3 separate regions of the Homo sapiens genome follow, and all the other regions are linked to region 1. The links are contacts of gene promoters, found by promoter capture Hi-C in blood cells and fetal thymus (Javierre and others, 2016). All regions are on one chromosome and are shown on one strand. The core of a region is centred on a gene start or on the middle of the fragment in contact, and the rest is flanking DNA. Distances in the headings are between cores, read along the strand shown. Region 1 holds the start of SSTR2 (somatostatin receptor 2). Region 2 overlaps SLC39A11 (solute carrier family 39 member 11). Region 3 overlaps SLC39A11 (solute carrier family 39 member 11).

Evidence for each region. The method cuts DNA at HindIII sites, captures the fragments that hold promoters and counts their contacts. A CHiCAGO score of 5 or more calls a contact.
Region 2: a fragment that was not itself captured here is called in contact with the fragment with the promoter of SSTR2 in region 1 in 4 of 17 cell types (M1 macrophages, M0 macrophages, M2 macrophages and 1 more); the score reaches 7.7 in M1 macrophages.
Region 3: a contact is called between a fragment that was not itself captured here and the fragment with the promoter of SSTR2 in region 1, in 4 of 17 cell types (M0 macrophages, M1 macrophages, monocytes and 1 more). The highest score is 7.3, in M0 macrophages.

The regions. Positions count from the first base shown.
Region 1 is chr17:73,163,310-73,166,728 of GRCh38, reverse strand. SSTR2 (somatostatin receptor 2) reads right to left here and starts at 1,719. Exons shown (of 2, transcript NM_001050.3): 1 at 1,441-1,719. It also overlaps the pseudogene POLR3KP2. RefSeq lists a silencer at 1,465-1,804 and an enhancer at 2,345-2,594. The HindIII fragment of the contact is 15,303 bases long and covers 1-3,419 here.
Region 2 is chr17:73,038,922-73,042,340 of GRCh38, reverse strand. All of the region lies in intron 3 of SLC39A11 (solute carrier family 39 member 11), which reads left to right. Among named protein-coding and RNA genes, the nearest start is that of SLC39A11, 52 kb to the left of the region's middle. The HindIII fragment of the contact is 1,458 bases long and covers 1,154-2,611 here.
Region 3 is chr17:73,060,481-73,063,899 of GRCh38, reverse strand. The region is part of intron 3 of SLC39A11 (solute carrier family 39 member 11); the gene reads left to right. Among named protein-coding and RNA genes, the nearest start is that of SLC39A11, 30 kb to the left of the region's middle. The HindIII fragment of the contact is 1,265 bases long and covers 949-2,213 here.

The sequences.
Region 1 (3,419 bases), core at 470-2,969:
GGGAGTCTTATTTAACAAAGAAGTCAGCCGCTTAAGGTCTTCCAGAGACTTCTGTTTCATTTTTGTTTCAGAGAAAGAATATTCCAATGCCAGGCAGACAATTCTAGATGAATTGTGGTTAAATTAAATGTACAAGGAAGTTTCGTTTTCTGCATTCTTTGTTTTTCCAGCCCAAGAATTGTTAGATGCTGGAAATGGCTAGTGGTTGGTTTCCTCTGAACCATGTCCAGGCTCTGTAGAGAGGAGGGTGAGAATGGTCTCACGCACCTGCCCCCCCCGCCCCCCTTTTACATAGGGGCTGTGATTACCAGCCCAAGAAATGAGTGTTGGGATGGCGACCCGACATCAGGGGAGGTCCTAAATCCTACTCAGCTTCAGTTTCTCCTCTCCCCATCATGTTTCCCGCATTCACTTCCCACCCCCCGCCTCCCTCAGGGCCTGCAGAACCCGGCTTGGTCTCTGTGCGGCTAGAGCGAGAGCCCCCACTGGCAGGGTGACAAAAGCCCCTGAGGGCCACCGCGGCGCGTGAGCGCCTGGGAAAAGCCGGGGCGGTGCTGGCCTACGGGGTTGAGAAATGGAGGGGCGAGTGTCAGGACCGCGGAGCCGGTTGCTCCCGGCTGGCACAGAAAGTCCTCCTCCTGGCCATCCAACTCGCTGATCCTCAGAGCAAGGGTTTCCCAAAGAACTCTGTGCCATTTCCAGGAAGACGAGGCAAGAGCGGAGATTGTGGCGCCAGCACGCCCAGTATCGAAACGCACAGCAGGGGTGCCGGGTGTGGGGGGGGGGCGCTGAGGACAGAGACATCGGGGCGCAGAAGACAGTCGCTTGGGGGACTTGGCCAGCGGCTTTTGGGCACGGCCTATGCAGTGGTTTTTTCTCTCCAAACCTAGACAAACTGTCCTTTCTGTCCCGAGGTGGGGGACGGGGACGGATCCTAGATCGTTCAGCGTCTAGGGAGAGAAGCCCCTCTTTCTCCGCTCTGCGCCCGCCGCCTGCCTCTGGCAGGCTCGGATCTCCGGGTGCGCTCCCGCAGGAGCCCCAGCTGGCATCTCACGGCCTCGCTCCCCTCGCGCCAGGTCTCTTTTGTAGGGGGCTGGGAGAGAAGTTGTCACCCGTCGCAGCTACCTGAAATCTCGGGCTAAAGGGCACACGCCACGCACACGGGCATGAGGCTGCGAGGACACGTCCGTTCCAGCACACTCTACCCACAGCCCCCTTACTCAGGCAAGGGTACCCGTTGTCGTTCATTCCTACTACAATCACCCCAAAAGGCACAAGAGCGGAGAATCACGCACCGGGACCTAAGCTCAGGCACTCGGATGGGCACACCACCATCAGCGCAGATGCACACAGGTGCCCAAGTGCGCTTCTCGCTCCCTCCATCTCTCTTATCACACACACACACACACACACACACACACACACACACACACCCCTCACCTTTGCTTTTCCGCTGCAATCCGCTAGCTCCGGTCTCCGACACCCAGCGGCTGTCCCCGAGCCAGCTGGGCGCCGGGGCGCGCAGCAGCTTGGCTAGCGCCTGGCGCCGGACGTTTGGGGTTCCTGGCTCCTCGACCCTCTTGTGCCGGCTCCCGCTAGCCCCTCGCACGTAGAGAGCTCCCCTCGCCCGCAGACCCCCGGCGCCAAGCCTCAGACTGGGGCTCTGGGCGCTGGTGGTCTTGCGAGCGCGCGCGCATGGGTGGCTGCGCCGCTGGGACTGGCCCAGCCAGCCCGGGCCCCTCGGCACATTTCCCCACGCCCCCCTCCCGCTACGTCACAGCGGCTTCGCTCCGCCCCCCCAACCCCTCCTCCCGGGTCCTGCAGAAGGACAGGGGTGAGACCGGCTGAAACGCCTGCGGGTGGCCGCAGGCAGAGCTTACAGACAGCCGGGGAGCGGGGAGAGAGGGGACCCGCCTGCGGGGGCGTAAAAGGTTAAGCGTTTTCGGTCTCCTCAAGACTCATGGCAAGGACAAGCGCTATTTTCCCTCTGATTTCACAGAGTCGATTCCCTTCCACCCATATATTCTAGGCAGCTGGAGTGGCGGCCGGGGTGACCCAGACTTATACCGGGACCTCTGTGATTTCCTTAGCCAAACAAGTTAGCAAAGCTGTGTTTACCGTGGGCCAGCCCCGGGCGCAGGGCGCAGGGCCAGGCTAAGAGTAGGGAGAAAAAGGGCTCAGGGGATAGCGCTTCTCCATGCAGTTCCCAATGAGCGCAGGGAGTGTAAACCCGCACCTGGAGTCCAAGATTCAGTCCTAGGAGCCATCAGAGGGCCAGTGGACGTCGACTGGTCCCAGCTGTCCCTGCGTCCCACAGCTTGGAGGTGCAGCGGCCATACAGGTGGTCCCCTTGCTGTAGCCACGTCAGTCAGCACCTGCTGGTCTGACCCAGCACAGTCTCTCCTACATGCTGTGAGGGAGCAAAGGGGAGCAGGCAAGAAGTGGGAGTCGCATGGAGTTGCAGCTGTTTATTTTTGACTGTGATGATTCAGCCTCTTTTCCAATAGTTTAATAAGTCATAATCAATCCTGCAGCCTCCCCTTCCTCACCCTCCTCCAAGTACATAGGTATACACACACACACACACACACACACACACACACACCATCCTCAGTACAGTTTTAGAGGATGTGAAAACAGAAAGCAAACCCCAACTAGCTTTCTCTGTGAGCTGAGCTGCCTTGATTTGTCCATCCTATTATCTGATTTCCAATTCACCAGGGAAAAGTAAAAGTCCAGAAGCTGTGTGGCAGGTGGGGTGAGCCTTAGAGATAGATGAGTGACATGGAAAAGCAACCACCAGGTACAGCAGCAGCCAGCTCTCTCTTCTATCTGGGCCAAGCTGTATCTTGGGGTACCCACTGTGAGATGGGGATCAGGAGTTTCCATCTCTCTCTGAGACGTTGGTCATGATAGGGCTTAAATCTTGGCATCCTGGAGCTCAGGGTGAGATGGAAATTGAGCTGCAATTGCCTTAAGTTCCAGGAGTCAATCTGGGAGCCAGCATCTCTTTTAGACATGTGTATGCAAGTGGAAGGGCTGGGGTGGCTAGCTCACTGGAAGAGGGCTGTGTCTGCTCACCGTCAGTGGGAAGAGGGAGAGGCAGAGAGGTAATAGTAATATCAGGAGGGCATCGTGGAATTGTGCTCAGGGGAACTCGGCATCCTCTGGCCACACAGTTGCTACAATGCCTGTTGCCACCTCCAGTTTAAAACCAGTAATCTGACTGGTTTCCAGGAAAAGAAGGAAGAGCCAGGAAGTGCCCACTCTGCCCTCAAATTCCTTTCCTAAAAGTTCTCAAACTGTTAATACCAGATTTACGTTTCATTAAAAAAAATAATAACTGGAGCCAGCAGAGTCCGAGATGATGCTGCTGTTCTACCCTGGCTGCAGGGATGGGCTGATCGTGGAGGAGGGAC
Region 2 (3,419 bases), core at 633-3,132, 120 kb after region 1:
CTACCTCTGTGTACCTTTTTAGAGGTGTGAAGAGTTGACACATTCAGTGCATTGTAAGTGAGCTATGTGCAATAATTTTCTTTCCCCTATTTGTTACGAGAAAAATTTTGTTTTGTGGCTTGGATTTTGTTTTGGTATTGAAACTGTCACTACTATAATAAAGGAAATGCTCAACTGTACCCATCGTGCCAGAATATTCTGATGTATCCCTTAACTCTTCACAAATTCATTTCTATTGCCAGAGCTGAAATTCCTTCAAAATGAACACTTACACAGAAATGGAAAGGTTTGCCTAATGTGGGGTAGGTGTTAAGTTGATTTTTTTTTTAAATCATTCTATGCTGGTACCTCTGACACCAGAGGGAAATTAATAGCATTATAAAGTACAGATCCCTGGGGCATTTTGCATGATATTTTGAGAAAAGAGATCGGATTATGAGCCTTTCTAGGTTTTGAGAACTACAGGAGGGAAACAGGGATTTTGTTCTCAGGGACTATGAAGAAGAGCTTGTAAATATCTGGTGATTTTAAATGTTTTCTCCAGTCCCTTTCAGCCTTCTGCTGTTAAGGCTGTGATTTACAAGCCTTCCACAAATGCACAGTCCAGGTGGGTGTTAAGGTTATCATGCAGAAACATTTCTGAAAATTGAGTTTTTGTACATAGGATTCTTTACTCGCATTGGATTTTCATTGTGAAATCAGGGTGAAGATGTGGGAAGATGCTGGGTGCCCCCATTCCAGCACATAAACTATCACTTTTTCTCCTGTTTTCAGCCTGGTATCCCCACCCTTAGCTGGGCTGGGGGTCCTGCAATGTCTGGTGGGACAGTTGCCTGGCTGCCTGGGGTACAGGAGGAATCTGGAGTTTACTTGCTTCTTACCCAGGCTTCCATCAGGTCTCTTTTAGGCCCATCTGCACACTCATTGTCAAAGGCTCCCTGGCTATTCTGGGGCTTTGTGGGATGAAGCACCTTCCTTCTAGTCTCTTCCTTCAGCCCCAGGTGGCAGCCTTCTTGAGCATCCATCAGCGATTACCTGCTTCTCTCTTCAAGCTTCCAAAATGTGGCTGCCATGTCCTCTTCCTTTCCTTCTGACTTTGGCCTTTGGATCCTTCATATCCCTGTACCTTTACTCCAGTGAGAATTTGGAAGCTTGTGTTCCATTGGCCATGTTTAATTAGAAGCCCTACAACGTACATTCTGTGATATTCCAAAGTGGACTAGGAATTTCACATTAGTGTAGTAAACCTTTGAAAATTAGATTTAGAGGGGAATTATTCTCTGATTGGATATACTGAGTAAGTGATACTGTTAATACTGTTTTTTTTTTTTGTTTTTTGTTTTTTGTTTTTTTTTTGAGATGGAGTCTGACTCTGTTGCCCAGGCTGGAGTACAGTGGTGTGATTTTGTCTCACTGCAACCTCTGCCTCCTGGGTTTGACTGATTCTTCCACCTCAGCCTTCCGAGCAGCTGGGACTACAGGAGTGCATCACCACACCTGGCTAATTTTTGTATTTTTAGTAGAAACAGGGTTTCACCATATTGACCAGGCTGGTCTCAAACTCTTGACCTCAAGTGATCTGCCCACCTCAGCCTCCCAAAGTGCTGGGATTTCAGGCATGAGCCACCGTGCCTGGGCATGTTATAATCATTAACTTTTAATAAGCTCTTTATTTGGAAGTATTTTAGATTTTAAGAAATGTTGCAAAAATAATACAGGGAATTTCTGAATAGTGCCCTTCATCCAGTTTCCCCCAATGTGAACATCTTACATAAATAATCATGACACATTTGTCAAAGCTAAGAATTAACATTTGTTTGTTACTATTCCCTAAACTCCAGACTTTATTTGGATGTCACCAGTTTCCCCACCAATGTCCTTCTTCTGTTCTCAGATACCAATCAGGATACAAACTGCTTTTAAACTGTTCCTATTTTAAAGTGTAATTTACAGCAGAGGGAGGCGTACCTTTTATTCAGAGACTTAGACCAAAAGTATAACATCTGTATGTTTTGTTTTGAAATCCCCAACTTTAGCTGTGCTGCTGGGAGGGGATTCTAGTGTGACTTACAAAATTGCTTGTTTCTCTACCTACTTCTAAGGAAGTCATGGGATATTAATGGGTTTAAGTTTGTGAGGTTTGATTTATCTTTGTGAAGCAAGTATTTAACAGGATTATTAGCCCTGTTCATTAGTGGCCACAAATTTTCTAGTGCTGGGTTTTCTTGGAGTAGTTTCTATCAGAATATCGGGGAATGCTATGGGATCGATTGCATTCAGTTATTGCTGACACTGATTCATCTCGGACTTCAGCTTTGGGATTCCTTCCCTGATAATGGGGGAGGTGGTAACTTAAACCTGGCCTTTACTCTGTAGCCCGCAGAATTTCTTACAAGATTCTGAGTTGTCAAGTAGGGGTAGAGGGTAGCACAGTCAACTTGGGACAGACCAGCTTGCTCTGGGGCTTTGGGAAAGCCACTGAATCTCTTTGGTGTCAGCCTTTTCTTCTGTTAAGTGAGGTTTTTAGATTAAATGGTCTCCTAAAGTCCCCTTTGACTCTAAGTGAGTCTGTGATTCTATCAGTAGACTTCAGTAGATTATCTGTGAAGCTTCGAAAATTCTGCGTTGGCCCTTTTCCACACCCATGAAAATCTCAATTATTTTAAACAATTACTCACCCCATGTTTGTGAAAGGACAGAAGGCATTTGAGTATGAGTCTGTATAATACTTAATTTGGAAGCTAAAAATTACTGTAAAAATTAGGCATTAGACCAAAAAATGGGTGTTGAATCACTTCCTGATCATGCGTTCTCATTTCTCCACCCTCGTTCCTCCCCTTCATTAGCAAGGATGACAGAGAATGCGATTAGGCAACAAATGTTGAATAGTCGCTCTGTCCAGGACTACTCTGATGGGGGTGCCAGGTACAGAGATGCTTAAGGCACAGCACTCTCCTGGGCATGTGCGACGTTCTGGGGGACATGGACACGAGTGATGAATCTAGTGTTATGGAAAAGAGCCGCCTTAGAAGTGGGGTATAGCGCAAGATGGGAGGAGGAAGAGAGGATGTCTGCAGAAGGCATACGGGGAGAGGGATGAATCCAAAACAGCACTGACCCGTTGCATATTTCCTGCTGGGAATCGGGTTGGGGTGGTATTTGCATTGACTCTCAGGATTCTTAGGACAATCCTGTGAAATGTACCATTTTCAGGTGACAAAACTGAGCTGCAGAAGAGAGCTTAGGTTATTTGACTGGGGCTACCTAACCAGTAAGTAGCTGAGCCAAGATTCAAACTCGGACTTGATTCTAAGTCCTGCATTTTCCCATAATAAATATGGACTTGGGCAAAGAGTTGAGGGTGTTCGGAAGAAGGGGCATGGGAGATGGGTCTTGGCGTTTTGGTGTTGTCACAGATT
Region 3 (3,419 bases), core at 332-2,831, 100 kb after region 1:
CACACGGTCATTGCCTGTGCATAAACTTTAAACAGATTACAGACGTGAATTTGCTGAACACTTTGTAATTATGCATGAAGATTTCTGTGTGGGGGAGAGTATCCATGGGCTGATGGCAGCGAACACTTGCATCTTATGGGCTCAGGAGCCCCAAATATTATTATGTGACATTGGTTTATTGCTTTATACTTTTTGAAGCACTTTCTCATCCGTTACCTCATCTGACCCTTGCAATAATCTTGTGGCCATAGGTTTTATTTTTAATTTTAATTTTAATTTTTTTTTTGAGATGAGCCTTGCTCTGTTACCCAGGCTGGAGTGCAGTGACACGATCTCGGCTCATTGCAACCTCTGCCTCCCGGGTTCAAGTGATTCTCCTGCCTCAGCCTTTAGAGTAGCTGGGATTACAGGCACGCGCCACTGCACCTGGCCTTGAAAAGCTTCTTTTACCCTCTGAAAATACATTTTGACACAATTCGTTAAAGTCTTGCAGCATTTAATTATATTAGAGTTTATAAGAGTGAAAGATACATGAGGTTCTATTAGCAGCGTAGGCCTTCCAGTAATTATTTCATAAGGGGTCAATCTGTATATCCCAGTGAGAATGGATCTGATTGCCATTAGTGCTAACGGTAGTACCTTTGGCCAAGTCAATCCAATTGATTCAGTTACCTTCGTCAAATTCATTTTTAAAAATGCCTTTTGTCATTTTTATCTTTCCAAAAGACTGAGGGTGATAGAGACAATGCTAGTACCTTGTGCTTCTAACATTTTAACTCTTTTATAATTTGTCCAAATGGATTCCTGTGTCACTAGAGATTTTGACAGGGATGTCTCCTCAAGCAGGGGCCCCCAACCCCCAGCAGGCCCCCAAGACTTACTGGTCTGTGGCCTGTTAGGAACTGGGCCACACAGCAGGAGGTGAGTGGCGGGTGAGTGAGCAAAGCTTCATCTGTATTTGCAGCCACTCTCCATTGCTCTCATTACCTCCTGAACTCCTCCTGTCAGATCAGCAGCAGAATTAGATTCTCACAGGAGCACAACTCCTATGGTGAACTGCACGTGCAAGGGATCTAGGTTACGGTCTCCTTATGAGACTCTAACGCCTGATGATTTGAGGTGGAACAGTGTCATCCCAAAACCATCCCCCACCCCCAATCCGTGGAAAAACTGTCTTCCACGAAACCAGTCCCTGGTGCCAAAAAGGTTGGAGACCACTGCCATAAAGGAAATAAATTTTGTAATAACTTCCTTGCTACTGTCATAGCATTAGCTTTTCTACATGGAAAGTTTCTATCCAACCAGGAAACATGCAAACTGTTGCAAGACATACTGATATCCTATTGAAGGTGGCAATTTAATGAAATCCCTCTGTAGATGTTCAAATGGCCTATCAGGTAGCAGAAGTGTATCACCTAAAGTTTTTTTTTTTTTTTTTGAGACAAGCTCTGGCACTATCACCCAGGCTAGAGTGCAGTGGTGCAATCTTAGCTCACTGTAACCTCCTCTGCCTCCCAAGTGGAAGCCATCCTCCTACCTCTGCCTCCCAAGTAGCTGGGACTACAGGCATGCATCACTACACCCAATTTTTGTATTTTTTTTTATAGAGATGGGGTTTTGCTATGTTGCCCAGGGTGGTCTCGAACTTGTGAGCTCATGTGATCTGCCTGCCTAAGCCTCCCAAAGTGCTGGGATTACAGGTATGAACTACTGCGCCCGGCCTCATCTGAAGTTTTGATTGTCTTTCCAGGATTATGAGTTTGACAAACTAAGCACTCACTGGTTACAAACCATCCTAGTAATTCTAGAACAGTCGCCACACCATTATTTTTCCATAATTTGTTTCATTTTGTCTGTGGTATGAAGAGTCATGGAACAGAGGATTTTTTTTGTTTTGTTTTGAGGCAGGGTTTCAGTCTGTCACCCAGGCTGGAGTGCAGTGACGTGATCACACGAGGTCACTGCAGCATTGACCTCTTGGTCTCAAGTGATCCTCCCACCTTAGCCCCCTGAGTAGCTGGGACCACAGGCTTGGGCCACTACACCCGGCTAATTTTCGTGTTTTTTTGTAGAGATGGGGTTTCACCATGTTGCCTAGGCTAGTCTTGAACTCCTGAGCAGAAGCAATTCACTCGCCTTGGCCTCCCAAAGTGCTGAGATTGTAGGCATGAGCCACTTGCCCAGCCTGCACAGAACTTTTAATAATGGAAGCTTTAAGGACTCAGAAAAGACCAAGTAGTTGTCTAAGCCCTCTATGAGTCTACGCTTAATGTTGAATTTACATCCTTTCAAGTACAAGTTTTATTTCTCCAATTAAGATGCATAACCCTGTCCAATGAATAGGTCATCATAGGTGATTTGACTTGGATAAATCTTAGGGAGTTCATTCAGCTTCTATATCTTAACAATTTCACAATCAACTGACTTAGCATGAAAATCTGACTTAGCATTTAAGTAATTCTTGTTCTTTTGATGGTGGGTTAACAGTTTTATGAACCAGTGAGTTTCTTCATACGAGTTCTGAGAATTTTTTTTTCCTTGAGACAGAGTCTTGCCCTGTTGCCCAAGCTGGAGTGCAGTGGTGCAATCTCAGCTCACTGCAACCTCTGCCTTCTGGGTTGAAACGGTTCTCTGGCCTCAGTCTCCTGAGTAGCTGGGACTACAGGTACCTGCTACCACTCCCGGCTAATTTTTGTATTTTCAGTAGAGACGGGGTTTCACCATGTTGGCCAGGTTGGTCTCGAACTCCTGACCTTGGGATCTGCCTGCCTTGGCCTCCCAAAGTGCTGGGATTACAGGCATGAGCCACCACGCTCGGTGAGTTCTGAGAATTCTTACCCAGTTTAATGATACGATCTTAAAGTAATCACAAACCTGTACTTGTCAGAATCTTTTCCGTGAGCCTCCTTGAAGACAAAACTATATAGGCTTATAGTTGCTTAGGAAAGTACCGAGCAAACAACCGTCTGTGAGTGACAGGACTTAAAATGTCCATGGTTAAAGAGCTGTTGAAATTTCATTCAATAATGACACAATTGACAAGGAAATTTAGTTGTTTCTGTGGAATACAACCATTTAACATAATAACTGAAATTATGGCTGATCACGTATCAAATTTCTAAAAATTGTAAACAATTTTCTAGAACACATATGAGTAAAATTCAAAGAAGGTTCAGCATTACTTATTATTTGACAGTACTTCCCATATAATTTAGTATACTAAATAAGCCTAATTCGTATAATATCTCCCCTTTACAAGGTGAGAGATGTATCCTTTGAGGCTTTCTCAGGGCCCAGCAAGAGAATCCCAAAGTTAATTCTTGGTCAGAAAGACTAAATTTAGAGTTTGATTTTGGTTTAAATATCACCAAGGTTTAAAACATTTCATCAAAATGGGATCACAAGTAACTATGAAATAA